Regions from separate parts of the Homo sapiens genome. Here all the other regions are linked to region 1. The links are contacts of gene promoters, found by promoter capture Hi-C in blood cells and fetal thymus (Javierre and others, 2016). All regions are on one chromosome and are shown on one strand. Each heading gives the region's core, a stretch centred on a gene start or on the middle of the fragment in contact. The rest is flanking DNA. Distances are from core to core; before and after follow the strand shown. Region 1 holds the start of SRMS (src-related kinase lacking C-terminal regulatory tyrosine and N-terminal myristylation sites). Region 2 overlaps DNAJC5 (DnaJ heat shock protein family (Hsp40) member C5). Region 3 holds the start of MIR647 (microRNA 647). Region 4 overlaps PRPF6 (pre-mRNA processing factor 6). Region 5 holds the start of ZBTB46 (zinc finger and BTB domain containing 46).

What was found. The method cuts DNA at HindIII sites, captures the fragments that hold promoters and counts their contacts. A CHiCAGO score of 5 or more calls a contact.
Region 2: a fragment that was not itself captured here is called in contact with the fragment with the promoter of SRMS in region 1 in 6 of 17 cell types (total CD4 T cells, naive CD4 T cells, naive CD8 T cells and 3 more); the score reaches 6.9 in total CD4 T cells.
Region 3: a contact is called between a fragment that was not itself captured here and the fragment with the promoter of SRMS in region 1, in 4 of 17 cell types (total CD8 T cells, non-activated CD4 T cells, fetal thymus and 1 more). The highest score is 7.0, in total CD8 T cells.
Region 4: a fragment that was not itself captured here is called in contact with the fragment with the promoter of SRMS in region 1 in 8 of 17 cell types (naive CD4 T cells, erythroblasts, activated CD4 T cells and 5 more); the score reaches 8.3 in naive CD4 T cells.
Region 5: the fragment with the promoter of ZBTB46 here is called in contact with the fragment with the promoter of SRMS in region 1 in 2 of 17 cell types (total CD8 T cells and neutrophils); the score reaches 5.5 in total CD8 T cells.

Annotation. Positions count from the first base shown.
Region 1 is chr20:63,546,437-63,549,136 of GRCh38, forward strand. It overlaps SRMS (src-related kinase lacking C-terminal regulatory tyrosine and N-terminal myristylation sites), which reads right to left and starts at 1,313. Exons shown (of 8, transcript NM_080823.4): 1 at 672-1,313. The coding sequence starts at 1,027. RefSeq lists an enhancer at 386-1,027. The HindIII fragment of the contact is 15,344 bases long and covers 1-2,700 here.
Region 2 is chr20:63,899,894-63,902,593 of GRCh38, forward strand. All of the region lies in intron 1 of DNAJC5 (DnaJ heat shock protein family (Hsp40) member C5), which reads left to right. Among named protein-coding and RNA genes, the nearest start is that of DNAJC5, 6.1 kb to the left of the region's middle. The HindIII fragment of the contact is 9,931 bases long and covers 1-2,700 here.
Region 3 is chr20:63,941,610-63,944,309 of GRCh38, forward strand. It overlaps UCKL1 (uridine-cytidine kinase 1 like 1), which reads right to left. Exons shown (of 15, transcript NM_017859.4): 8 at 2,044-2,060. It overlaps MIR647 (microRNA 647), which reads right to left and starts at 1,117; the gene lies at 1,022-1,117. RefSeq lists enhancers at 709-1,422, 1,423-2,134. The HindIII fragment of the contact is 298 bases long and covers 1,208-1,505 here.
Region 4 is chr20:64,004,407-64,007,160 of GRCh38, forward strand. The region is part of intron 9 of PRPF6 (pre-mRNA processing factor 6); the gene reads left to right. Among named protein-coding and RNA genes, the nearest start is that of PRPF6, 25 kb to the left of the region's middle. RefSeq lists a silencer at 688-860. The HindIII fragment of the contact is 5,259 bases long and covers 1-2,754 here.
Region 5 is chr20:63,829,879-63,832,587 of GRCh38, forward strand. ZBTB46 (zinc finger and BTB domain containing 46) reads right to left here and starts at 1,386. Exons shown (of 5, transcript NM_001369741.1): 1 at 1,219-1,386. RefSeq lists a silencer at 1,404-1,543. The HindIII fragment of the contact is 15,017 bases long and covers 1-2,709 here.

The sequences.
Region 1 (2,700 bases), core at 63-2,562:
ACTGGGCATCTGGACTAGGCGCCTCTGCAACCCCTGCTCACCTGCCCTCACCCAGAGCTCCTGGAGCGTGGGCCCCTGTCTCAGCCCCCAGTCCCAGCCCCTGCTCACCTGCCTTCACCCAGAGCTCCTGGAGCGTGGGCCCGTCTCAGCCCCCAGCCCCTGCTCACCTGCCCTCACCCAGAGTTCCTGGAGCATGGGCCCCTGTCTCAGCCCCCAGCCCCCAGCCCCTGCTCACCTGCCGTCACCCAGAGCTCCTGGAGCTCCTGTCATCTGGTGCCTCCCAGCCCCCAGCCCCTGCCCTCCAAGCAGTGACCGATCCATGAACACTGGACTCCCTGTGTGAGGGCGGGAGGGCCTGGCCAGCCAGGCAGGGTCCTGGAGGAACCGCCTGCTGGGTGTCCAGCTGGTGCAGCTGATGCTCCCCCCCACAGGACCTGACCACGCCTGCCGGAGCCTCCTCTCCCTCTCGGCAGCCCACAGCGGACACTGCTGTTTTCCTACCACACCTGCCGGCCCGGGGCCCATCAGCTGTCCCTGAATGAATGCGTGGATGAACGAATGAATGAACAGATAGCCACGGACATGCGATTTCCAACTCAAAATCCTGCCGTTGTTCTGGACTCCCCAGCTGGGGGCGAGGCAGGCTCTGACTCCGAGGCCGAGGTACTCACGGTTGGTCTGAGAGCGTCTCAGGAGAAGCCTTGGCCACGTGGGTGATGGGCACGAGCCCGGCGCTGGGCTGGCCCGAAAGCCTGCGTGCGAAGATGTAGCCGCCCCCCTCTTCGAGGGCACAGAGCCTGTCCCCGCGGCGGACACTCAGCTCCCCGCCACACCGCGCCGTGAAGTCATAGAGCGCAAGGAAGAGCTGAGGGAAGGGGCTGCAAGGCTCGGCGGGGAGCGTGGGCACTGGGTCAGTGTTGGGGTCCAGGGACCCGGGGGTGCCATGGTCCGGCTCGCCGCCCGCCGGCCAGATCTTGTCCCAGAAGAAGGACAGGAAGGCCAGCCGCCTCCTGAGGAACGGCTCCATCCCCCGGGGTCACCACGCTGGGCCCGAGGGCCATGGGAGCCCGCGAGCCCGGAAGAGGAACTGGCAGGGCCGGTGGGACCCGGTGTCCAGCGCTCCCTGCCCTGGCCGTGGGGTGACAGGGGACCCCGGCCCTGCGGTCACTCAGAGGTCCCCTGGATCCAGGAGGCACACGGTTCCCACCGGCGTCCGGGCTGGCGTTGGGGCTGGGTGGGGCGCAGGGCGGACCCCCTGCCTCAGGCACACCGACAGCACCTCCTGTCCTCGACCTCCTTGGCGTCTGGAGTGCACCGTCCCCTCCCCAACCCGACGGCAGAGGGCAGCTTGGGCTGGGGCGGGGGCGGGCTCCAGGAGGGGCCCGAGGAGGGCGGGGTGGGCAGGGCCAGCCTCTCTCCCGCCCTCTGCAAGGCCCAGGCAGGCGGAATGGCTCTGCCCAGTCAGGCCTGGCCCATGCCCAAGGGCACCACAGTCCAACAGCCGCCCGTGCCCACGGAGAAGTGGGGGTTCCACGGAGAAGCGCTGCTGTTCAGCACCTGCAGTGGTTGCCAAGCCTGAGCTGCACTCAGGTGAAAAATTGCCTGCTTATTTAAGTGTTGGCCAGATATTTTAACATCATTAACCCTGCACCAGGTGCCGAGCCTCCGGCCTCTGCAGTAAATTCTGAGGACAGGCGAGTGAGGGGGCTCTCAGCACCCCGGCTTTCATGCAGTAAAACGAGATGCTGATTGCAGGGAGCTCGGCCGCAGGCCAGGCACCCAGATGCCCCATGCTGCCCGATGACCGGCTTCTGAGTCAGTCAATGCCCAGGCCATACCCAAAGGCCACTGCGGGGAAGTGGAGGCTGCGGACGCCTGGCCCCAGTTCAGGGGGATGAGCACACGGAGAAGGGGCGGCGGGTGAGTCCCTGGCTGGGGACCTCCCACCCTCTCCCTGGACAGCGCCAAGCCCCCGCATGCTGAAGCAAACTCTGCCCGCTCAGGTAGGTCCCCAGATCGGGGCAGGACTGGGGGAGCAAATCCCAGCAAAACCCAGCAGCACGGTACAGGGTCCTGAGGCAGGAGGATGGGGTGGTGGCCATCTGCAGTCTCTCTCTCCTCCCACATCCCCTCCGGGTCCTGAGTGGGGTGGGGTGGGGGCCATCTGCAGTCTCTCACTCCTCCCACCTCCCCTCTGGGTCCTGAGGCACGGGGGTGGGGTGAGGCCATCTGCAGTCTCTCACTCCTCCTGCCGGCCTCCCCCAGCAGCCCCTTCCGCACCTGGGTGGCCTTCAGGGAGCCTCACGCCCCTTTCCCACATCTCACACGCATCCATGCCCCCACTTCATGCGTGTGGCTGAATGCATCCCTCCAATAGGCGTGACCAGTGTCCAGCCAATGACAAGCCCCTCGCACCTGCCTGCCCTGGAGTCACAGATGGGCTTCTCAGAAACCTCACGTCTGGGGACTGGTGTGTGCATTGTGGGGTGGCAGTGACACCCGTGGCCTGGCTCTCAGGGCACCCCAGCAGCCAAGCTGTGTCCGGGCTGATAGCCTGGAGCCAGCAGGGGCCCTGGGAGACTGGACATCGCCAGGCTCAGGGCAGGCTCTGCACCAGAGAGGTGCCCTGCTGGGGGTGGTGGGGGGTGTTGAGAAATGTGGAGAATTGTAAATACTACATTGGGGGTGGCCTTCGAGGGG
Region 2 (2,700 bases), core at 40-2,539, 350 kb after region 1:
TTTTTTTGGTTGGGGGACGGAGTCTCACTCTGTCACCCAGGCTTGAGTACAACGGTACGGTTTCCGCTCATGGCAACCTCTGCCTCCTAGGTTCAAGTGATTCTCCTGCCTCAGCCTCCTGGGTTGCTGGGATTACAGGCGCCTGCCATGACACCCGGCTAATTTTTGTATTTTTAGTAGAGATGGGGTTTTGCCATGTTGGCCAGGCTGGTCTTGAACTCCTGACCTCAGGTGATCCACCCACTTTGGCCTCCCAAAGTGCTGGGATTATAGGCGTGAGCCACTGAGCCCAGCCCCAAGTTGGTCTTGAGCTCCTGGACTCAAGTGATCGTCCAACCAGCATCTCATTTTCTAAAGAAAGAAGTACTTAGACCAGGTTTGGGACATGTCTCTGAAAATTCTGGGCTGGTGCAGTGGCTCATGCCTGTAATCCCAGCACTTTGAGAGGCCGAGGCAGGCGGATTGCTAGAGTCCAGAAGTGAAGACCAGGCTGGGCAACATAGCAAAACCCCATCTGTACTAAAACTAGAAACAATTAGCCGGGTATGGTGACATGCAGCTGTAGTCCCAGCTACTCGGAGGCTGAGGTGGTAGGATCACCTGAGCCTGGGAGGCTGAGGCTGCAGCAAGCCATGATTGCTCCACTGCACTCCAGCCTGGGCGACAGAGCAAGACACTGTCTCAAAAAAAAAAAAAAAAAAAAAAAGGAAGTTCTGTATTGATCAATAATTTCCTCCTCAGGACAGACCTGCATATGCCACAATTTAACTTTGTTGCAACATCATTCTACATTTTGCATGAATGGTTTCAAAAAACTTATTTCTATGACAGAGAACTTTGTCATTTATTCTTGACATATTAAACCTGAGTGACATTTTTAAATTTTTGTGTTGTGTTGTGAGTGCTTAGTGAAGATTCCTTGAATATGGATGTGAATGAATCTTATTTTTCATGGGTTTATAATTGTATTGTCCCTTTAAATATTCTACATTGAACATGTATCACCAGCAGAAATAATCATTTACGAGGTGAAGTGTCCAGAGCCATGTAGTGTCTGCATTGCTGTGTCCAGGGATTCTTTGTTTGTTTGAGACGGAGTCTCGCTCTGTCATCCAGGCTGGAGTGCAGTGGCACGATCGTGTCTCACTGCCGCTTCCACCTCCCGGGTTCAAGTGATTCTTCTGCCTCAGCCTCTTGAGTAACTGGAATTACAGGCGTGTGCCACCACGCCCAGCTAATTTTTGTATTTTTAGTAGAGATGGGGTTTCACCATGTTGTCCAGGCTGGTCTCAAACTCCTGAACTCAAGTAATCAACCCACCTTGGCCTCCCAAGGTGCTGGGTTTACAGGCATGAGCCACTGTGCTCAATCTGCGTTCTGAGGCATTCTGTGCCTGTTATGAAATCATGATGCTGGCAGGTCGGAAGATGGAATCGACTTCCCAGCCCCATCGGCTGTGCCCTGCCCTCCTTGCTGTCTCTAGAGCGCGGCTGACTTCGGGGAGAGCTCTCCCTGCCCTGTGCCTCTATTTTTTCACCAGGTAGGGTGGAAATGTGTTCTAGTGAAACTGCAGAACGAAAATATCCCGTCTTACTCTTGACCCTTGAAGAAGCAGGAGCTGAATTCAGGTGCCAGAGGCTGCGTCCGCGCGCTCCACATCAGTCTCAGAGTGGAGGCGAGCCCAGGCCAGAGGCCTCTACCCCGGACGAGGCTGCAGGTGCCTGACGGGAGGAGTGACTGCAGCTCAGCAGAGGGAGTGTGTGGAGTGTGCGGCCCTGCCTGGCTTTTATTTTGCTCCTCCTGTTATTGGGAGGGATTAGCAGCAGAGCGAATGTTTGGATCTTTGCTGAGCAGTCCCATCGGATTTTTCTTTATTAAATAGGATTGTGTTTTATTGTAAGAAGGTTTCCCTAAGACAAATAACGAAGGAAATTCTGGGTCCAGGAGTACAGACTGTAGCTTCTGTCATCTCTTGCCAAGTTCGTAGCCCTCAGATGGTGTCTGTCTTTCCCCTTTGCTTGCGGGGCCTTTTACCACAGCACTTTGGTGTTCTTTTAGCTGCTGCGATAGGACTAGCTGTTAAAATCTGAGATTTTACATTTTTGCCAGTCGCAATAAATTTTGTTAGTTCTTTCTTGATGTGTTCTTTAAAATAATAATGCTTTTTTTTTTTGGGTGGGGGACAGAGTCTTGTGCTGTCGCCCAGGCTGGAGTGCAGTGACGCGATCTCGGCTCACTGCAAGCTCCGCCTCCCGGGTTCACGCCATTCCCCTGCCTCAGCCTCCCGAGTAGCTGGGACTACAGGCGCCCGCCACCACGCCCGGCTAATTTTTCGTATTTTTAGTAGAGATGGGGTTTCACCGTGTTAGCCAGGATGGTCTCGATCTCCTGACCTTGTGATCCGCCCAGCTCGGCCTCCGAAAGTGCTGGGATTACAGGCGTGAGCCACTGCTCCTGGCCTCATCTTTTTTTTTTTTTTTTTTTTTTTTGAGACGGAGTTTCACTCTTGTTTCCCAGGCTGGTGGAGTGCAACGGTGTGATCTTGGCTCACCGCAACCTCTGCCTTCTGGGTTCAAGTGATTCTCCAGCCTCAGCCTCCTGAGTAGCTGGGATTACAGGCGTGTGCCACCACACCCAGCTAATTTTGTATTTTTAGTAGAGATGGGGTTTCTCCATGTTGGTCAGGCTGGTCTCGACCTC
Region 3 (2,700 bases), core at 107-2,606, 400 kb after region 1:
CTTTGTGGGGTCAGGCCCCGCCCTGGCTCCTCCCCGAGGTGGTGCGCGGCCCCTCAAGAGAGGGGGGTGGGGGGCAAAGCTGGCTCAGTGTCTCTTGGCTGTCCCGTCCCGCCCCGCTGCCCAAGCCTGGGGATGGCCGGGGCAGCAGCAGGTCTAGGAGCGGGCAGGAAAAGGGCGGGGTGGAGGCAAGAAAGAGGTGGGACAGGGAGGAGGCAAAGCCGGAAAGGGGCATGACAGGGGCAGGGAATGGGGCGGGGCAGGAAAGGGGGTGATGCAGGGGCAGGAAGAGGAAAGCGACAGGCCACAGAATTGGGTGTGGCAGGGGAAGGAAAGAGGCAGGGCACGGAATTGGGTGTGGCAGGGCAGAAAAGAGGCGTGACAGCGGCAGGGAAAGGGGCGGGGCCGGGAATGGGGTGTGGCAGGGCAGAAAAGAGGCGTGACAGCGGCAGGGAAAGGGGCGGGGCCGGGAATGGGGTGTGGCAGGGCAGAAAAGAGGCGTGACAGCGGCAGGGAAAGGGGCGGGGCCGGGAATGGGGTGTGGCAGGGCAGAAAAGAGGCGTGACAGCGGCAGGGAAAGGGGCGGGGCCGGGAATGGGGTGTGGCAGGGCAGAAAAGAGGCGTGACAGCGGCAGGGAAAGGGGCGGGGCCGGGAATGGGGTGTGGCAGGGCAGAAAAGAGGCGTGACAGCGGCAGGGAAAGGGGCGGGGCCGGAAATGGGGTGTGGCAGGGCAGAAAAGAGGCGTGACAGCGGCAGGGAAAGGGGCGGGGCAGGAGCAGGAAAGAGGGCCTAGCGGGAGCAGCGGGGCAAGGGGCTACGGGAAGGCGGGTCACACAGCAGCACCACGGAGCACACTGCTCACATATCCCAACGTAGCTTCCTCTGCTTGCCAGGTGAAGAGCATGTTCAGGGAGGGAACAAGGCAGGAAACGGGGGTTTACAGAGAGAAGGAAGAGAACAAAGAGAAGGCTGCTTAGTTGGGGAGCAGGGCGTTCCCCGCAGGCCTGAGGAGGAGTGTGGGCGGTCAGGCCCCCAGCCCTGCCTGACCCTCCCTCCTGCCCCCGACCAAGGCTTCCTGGGGCTGAAGGAAGTGAGTGCAGCCACAGGCCAACACTTCCTTGGCTGACCAGACGACGGAAAATGTGTCTGGCTGCGTTCAGGTGTTTTTCCAAGTTTGAAACCCTGGAAAGTTTTTCCTCTCAGAACAAAAGCTTCAGGAGGAACCTGACGGGACAAGACCTGCGGGTTCCTAGGCCGAGGAGAGGGCCAAGCGGAGACTCATGCAGGCACCGGAAGCTGGACGGCTGGTGGACGGGCCCTGGAGGCATTTCCAACATTTGGCAAACTCTTTGGAGGGCTCTGAATGTGAGGGCTCTCCCTCCAGGTGGCTCAGTCAGGAGCCTCCCAACCCACAGAAGGCAGGGAGAAGGGCAGGTCCCTTGTGGCTGACCCCCCTGCATGCCTGCCCTTGGGGAGGGACAGTGGGATGCGGCCCCGGCCCAGCCCAAGCTTCTTGCTGCAGTTGCCCAGTTCCTGCTGGCAGAGCTGTGCGGGCTGCGAGGACAGAGCTGGGGCAAGCAGGACCCGGGTGGGTGGGAGGACAGGCGCGAGGCCCTCCACCTGCAACCAGGGAAAGCTGACTGGTCCGTGAGGCTGGGCACAGGAGGTACAGCAGGCTCCCTGGCTGCTGGGACATGTCTGTAGTCACTGCCCCAGAGGCCTGGCAGTGCTGGCTCAGGAGGACAGCTGTGCTCTCTGGGGTCAAATCCCATAGACAGACTCAGGAGTCAGGGGAGCCTCCAGCAAAGTCTGGCCAGGACAGGGTCAGGACTCCGTGACGCTGGGCAAGCTACTTCACGTCTCTGTGCCTCAGTGTCCTCATCTGCCAGCAAGGGGAGGCAGAAGCAGGGCTGGGACCACTCCACACCACCCCTTCTGTGACTGGGGAAGAGCCAGCTGCCTGGCTGGATCACAGCCCAGACCCCAGAGCTCCTTGGAGGTGTTGGAAGTGCCTCCATCTGTGCAGACAGCTGTGCAAGTCTTACCTGACGCTGAGTTCACGCTGTGGCAGCAACACAGGAAGACACAAGGGAACGGTGGCGCGTCAGTGACCAGGGCAGGCGGCCAGGCCACCCCCACCCAGGAATGGACATGCTGCAGGCCCGCGGGGACACAGCCAGCCATGGGGGGTGGCAAGCTTCTAATGCCTGTAACCTGGGGACCACCTGGGCCAGACCTGCAGTTCTGCGTTGGGGCAATCAGAGCCAGGACCCTGGGCTCTGTTCTGCAGGCCTCAGGCCTTCAACATCCTGGTAGGGAGTGTGTTCAGAGCCACTCAGGCTCCAAGGCCCAGCCATAGAATGCCTCAGGGAGCAGGGGACCTCTGGTGGGGGTGTCGCTCCTGGGGTGACCCCCTGAGAAAGAGAGGAGCCTGGCCTGGCGTGGGACTCAGCAGTGAAACCCCACAATCCTGGGCCAGCAGGTCATGCCTGTCTTCCCAAAAGCTCAGGCTGGGTGTGCTGAGCGGGCTGCACCCTCGGCTGGGTCCTGAGCACCTGTACCCCCACCCCAGCTTCCTCAGGGAACCCAGGCCCTGCACAGCACAACGGGATGGGGTCTGGGCTGGACAATCTGACTGGCCAAGCAGGCTCAGGACACTCAGGGCTGGCACCTGGCAGGGGACAGTGAACGCAGGGGGATGA
Region 4 (2,754 bases), core at 125-2,624, 460 kb after region 1:
GCACTGCTTCATTTGGTTATTAGCAAACACTTACACGTTGCTTGAAGGGTCTGGTTTTTGAAATTAAGATGACAGCTACTTCCACTGGTGACTTAGGACACCTGCCAGCCAGGGAGCCTGGCAGTGCATGGTCTCTGTGAGCTCTGGGTCGCTGTTGGGCTGAGCTGACACCTTAGTCCTTTGTTGGGAGAATGGGCGTTTTGGGTGCTGATCTTGAGACCTGAGGAGGCTGAGTAACCTTAGGCATGGTGCTTGGCCTCTGAGCTTCCATGTCTTCCTCTGTAAAAGGGAAGAGGGCTTTCAGGATTGGGGAGGGTGCAGCATGTGAGCTTCCTGGCCAGGGTGGGGTGTCCCACGTGCAGAGTCCCCTGGGGAGGCCCGACTGGCAGCTCCCCTACAATAATGCACTCACATGCTGTGTACTCCGCTAGTTAATGCAGATGTGTGGAAGTGGAGTTATTTTACACTAACGCCATATGCTCTGGCCTGTGAAGCGTGGCATCCTTCAGTGGCCGTCGCCAGCGTGTCCCTCTGGGGGCACAGGAATGGCACAGTTCAGGTTGAGGGTCTTCCCTGCAGTCACGTGACCCCCGGAGAGCATGTTGGCCTCTGCACGGTCACGTCTTCATGGCTGTGTCTAGCATTCAGAATACTCTTCTGTTCTAGGCCAACTTCAGGGGTGTGTGCTTCCTCCACTTCTGCTCATAAAGTCACACTCCTTGAAGGCCATTGTATCATGGTGTGCCATGTGGCTTCCGAAAGCACCTGGGGAAGGTGACCTTGTTGGTTTTAGTGCCATGCCTGTGGGCTGCTGATGAGATGCCATGGAGATATGTCAGCTCTCTCCCAAAACTTGAAGACACAGAGTCCTGGGAGTCGTAAGTTAATGACTCCATAAATTGAGTCCCGCATGAATATTCTGTTCTTTAGAGACGCGAAGTTCATCTCCACCAATGTACAAAGTATTAAGGGAAGTAGTTCATATTTAGACAAATAGAGCACTCATCTCCCACGCAGTCGAGGTGAGAGCGCACAGGAAAAACAACTGGGTCGTTCTGTGTCTTCTCTCTATGCCTAGTCGCCTGGTTGGAGGTTAGGACTTTCCTTCTTTACTGCTGTGCCCTCTGCTGTCACCCTGCTTGGTCAGGGTTCTTGACCTGGATGAGTAACCCAAATCTTTTTTTTGTTTTAGACAGAGCCTCGTCCTATTGCCCAGGCTGGAGAGCAGTGTTGCAATCAGCTCACTGCAGCCTCAACCTCCTGGGCTGTAGTGATCCTCCTGCTTCTGGCTCTTGAGTAGCTGGGACCATAGGTACATACTACCATGCCTAAATAATTTTTATTTTGAGACAGGATCTTGCTCTGTTGCCTAGGCTGGAGTGCAGTGGCATGATCATGGGTCACTGAAGCCTCAACCTCCCAGACTCAAACTATCCTCCAGTCTCAGCTTCCTGAATAGCTGGGACTCCAGGGACATACCACCATGCCTGGCTGAGTTTTTAATTTTTCAAAGAGACGAGGTCTCCCTGTGTCATCCAGGCTGGTTTTAAACTCCTGGGCTCAAGTGATCCTCCCACCTCAGTCTCCCAAAATGCTGGGACTGCAGATGGGGGCCACTGTGCTCAGCCAGGACCCATATCTTTATCCCCAAAGGGTCTGACTTGTTGGTAGTTTTGCTTTTTTGGTGGCTGTAGTTCCCATTAACTTTTACTGGTAAAAGCAGAAATACTAAACTGTTTTTAGGACTGGCCTCTAGATAGTCTCCCACAGTGGGTGGCAGCAACTCAGTCTCGCTTTGGGAGTCAGGGTTAGCCTCTCCAGCCAGGGCTGGTACATGAGGAGGCCAGAGGGAGCTGTGGTCTGCACCCTGGTTGGCACATACTCCCTTTGGAGTAGCTCGTAGCTTGCTCTTTTTTTTTTTTTTTTTTGAGACTGAGTCTTGCTCTGTTGCCCAGGCTAGAGTGCAGTGGCGCAATCTCGGCTCACTGCAACCTCCGCCTCCTGGGTTCAAGGAATTCTCTTGCCTCAGCCTCCCAAGTAGATGGGATTACAGGCACCTGCCACCACACCCGACTAATTTTTGTATTTTTAATAGAGATGGGGTTTGGTTTCACTGTGTTGGCCAGGCTGGTCTCGAACTCCTGACCTCATGATCCACCCGCTTCAGCTTCCCAAAGTGCTGGGATTACAAATGTGAGCCACCACACCCGGCCTTTGGACCAGCTCTCTTGACAGGAGGGTCCAAGGAGGCGGAGACGGGACTCTTGGCAGTGGAGACGGGACTTGTGGCAGCGGAGATGGGACTTGAGCCATTCAGACATCACTGTTTATTCCTAGACCCGTGTGTTCTGGCTGTGAGATCCAGCCGGGATTGGTGTCTATTCACAGCATTTGTGGCATCCTACTGGGCTGCCAGGCCATGGCTCTGAGTGATGGGCACATGGTAAGACCATGTTCTGCCTGAATCGGTGAATTCATATAGCTTCGTCTTCTGGCCGTCTTTCAGTTGGTCAAGTGGACATCCAGATAATAAGGCCAGGGGTGTCAGTGCCAGTGTGCTGTGCAGAACCATGCGTAAACCACAGCAGACTTTTGTCTTCTCAGTCCCTTGACCCTAAGGGACTCCCCAGAGGTTGTCAGTGTGGGCTGAGGGAGGAAAGCGGTTGAGCAGCCACCAGTGCAGGAGGCATCTGCCCCATAGCTTAGGCAGCTGTGCTGCACCTGCCTTCCTTCCACACCATCTCCTGGGTGCCA
Region 5 (2,709 bases), core at 136-2,635, 280 kb after region 1:
ATGAAAGATTCTACAATCGATACAATTAAAATGCCCGTGAGTTCTCGGCGCACAGGTGTCTGCGCCCAGGCCGCGCGCTAAACACGTTTCTAATTAGCATTTCTTTAAACAATGCTGATCACAATCTTGCCACCGTAATCCACTCCAAATGCATCGTTGAGATTGCAGCACGGAAAGCGAGAGAGGAAATTCGCTGCGAATCTCAAACTTTCTTTTGTTTATATTTCTTCGCTGTCAGAAAATATCCGTTCTTCGCCCCATCTGGTCTGTACCCTGGCTCCTCGGTCCAGCCCTATTGTGTGTGCTTCGTTAAACCTACAAACAGTGAATCTGTCAGCGGGGCCAGGGGAACCCCAACTAGCAGGAGCCCTCCCTCTGGCGCAGAGAATTCCCCGTTTGCCTTAGGGATTGAGTTGTCAGACACCGGCTCGCGCTCCCCCGCGAAACTGACATGTCTATTTACAGAGAAACAAAGACGCGGCTCGCAGCGGACCCCGCTTCCTCCGCGCGCCCCGTCCGCCCCGCGCGCCCCGAGCCCTCCGCGCCCCGAGCCGCCCCGCCCCGAGGCCCCTGCGCCCCGGTTCGGCCGGCGATTAAGATGGAGACCAGGCCGGCGCCCGGCGTCCGGGGAGACAATGACCCCCCGGCCTCAGGGCGCCGGGACCCGCCCGCGCCCACCTCCCGCAGTTCCGACTCTTGGCAAACTCGGCGCGGGCGGCTCCGGGTGCGGCTGGGCTGTGCCGGCGGGGGGCGCGGGCGGGGGGCGCCAAGACGCCCCCGGGCTGCCTCGGGGCCAGGCGTTGACGCAGCAGAAATTACCAGCTGGAAAATTCCCCTCTCGGAGGTGCCGGGGAGGGAGCGCGGCGGCGGCGGGAGGTGCCGGGGGCCGAGGGGCCGGGGCAGCCCAGCCGCCTCCGCGCTCAGCCCCGCGGGGAACCCGCGCCGCCCCCGCGCGCCCCGCCCCGCGCCGCCGGCCTGGGGGGCACCCGCGGGGGCCGGGCCGGGGTCTCCGCCGCCGCCCCCGGAGCCCGCGCCGCAGCTGGGAGCGCCGATGGCCCCCGGGAGGGCGCCCCCGCGGGGCGGGGCGTGGCGGGGCGGCCGGCGGCGGGGGCGCGCCCGGGCTCGCAGCGGCCCCGGCTCCCGGCTCCCGGCTCCGGGCCCGGCCCCCGCCGCGATGCGCCCGCCCGGCCGCGCGGACAATGAGCCGGCGCCGCTTACCTGTGACCCCATGGGGCGCGGGCGAGGGCGGGCGCCGCGGCCGCCGGGCCGGCGCCGGTGATCGCCGCCGCCGCCGGGAGGGCGCTGCGTCCGGGCGGGTCCGAGCTGCGCGCTCGCCGGGGCTGCTCGGTCCGTCCGTCCGTCCGTCGGTCCGTCAGGCCGGCGCGCGCCCCCGCGCCCGCTCCAACCCCGCGGCCCCCGCCGCCCGCGCGCGCGCGCCCCGCCCGCGGACCCTGACCCCGCCCCCCGGCGCGCGCCCGGCCGCCGCTGATTGGCCCGCGCCGCGCCCCGGCCGCGGCCACCGCCCCGGGCCCCGCCCACGCCGGCCCGGCCGCCGGCCCCGCCCCTCGCTCGGCTCCCGGCGCCGCGCCGCGGGGTCGCAGGGGGCCGCGCCGGGGGTCCGTTCTCCCCCCCGCGGGCAGCCGGACAGCGGAAGTGCGGGCTGGAGCTCGCTGGGCATTGTGGGAAGCCCCCTCCCCTGGGCTGGCGGGGGGCTGGGGCGGCGCGGCGCGGGGGTCCCCCTGGCCCCCGCTGCGCCCTTGCCCCGCGAGCGCGGAGCAGCCTGGAAACACCCCACGGGAGCGGCGACCCCGGCGAGGGCACCCGCTCCCTTCCCGGGCCGCGCACCGGGCGCTGCCCACGCGCAGGTTCCTCGGGGGCGCGCGGGTGCCCAGGTCACCGGCCGTCCCCGCGCCTGACGCGCGGTTGCACTGCGCGCGTCTCGCAAACTTGGCGACTCCCCCAGCCCGGCCGGGCATCAACGCGGGCCGCTCGCGGTGCGGAAAAGGCGCCCCCAAGGAAGGCCGCCCGGGGTGCGGGGTCTGGAAGGGCCTGGGCACCGCGCGCGCCTACCCTCGGGGGCCTCGGCGCACCCGGAGATCGGCGCACCTCGGGCGCAGGCCTCGTGGGGGTGCCCGCCAGTGGGGCTCGCTTTTGGCTGACTAGGGGCACCGGCGGCCGCGCGTGGGTCCCTCCCGTCGTGTTGTCTGCGGGGGACGAATGGCTCCGGGAGGGGGCGGGAACCAGCGGCCCGGGCCTCGCCCCAGCCCGTGTGCAGCCCCGATCCGAACGGCCTGGGACGCGTCTCCACCACTCGGCGCCCGGACTCTGCGCGTCGCTTCTCGCCTCCGCCGTCCTCAGCCCTCGGGCGGGTAGAGTGGGAAGCGCGGCCCCGCATTCCTGGCCGGCCTGCGCAGGGGTAAAGGCCACCTCGCTTCCTCTCCCCGGGCGCGGCGGGAAGGGAGGTGAGCCTGTGGCCGGCAGCCGCGCGAGGGAGTCGAGCCCGGCCCGGCCAACCAATGGGGAGGCGCCCGGGCCGTCCAGCCTGCCTCCCTGCGGGCCCAGCGCAGCGGATTCCTCGGGAGGTGGGAGGCGGCGGCCCTATGGGTGCTTTCAAATCTGGATGTGTGAGGCGCATTCAGGAGCGGCAGTGGGAGGCGGCTGAGGGCTCTCCATGAGTGAGCAAAGGCGAAGCGAGGTGTGGCTGCCGGG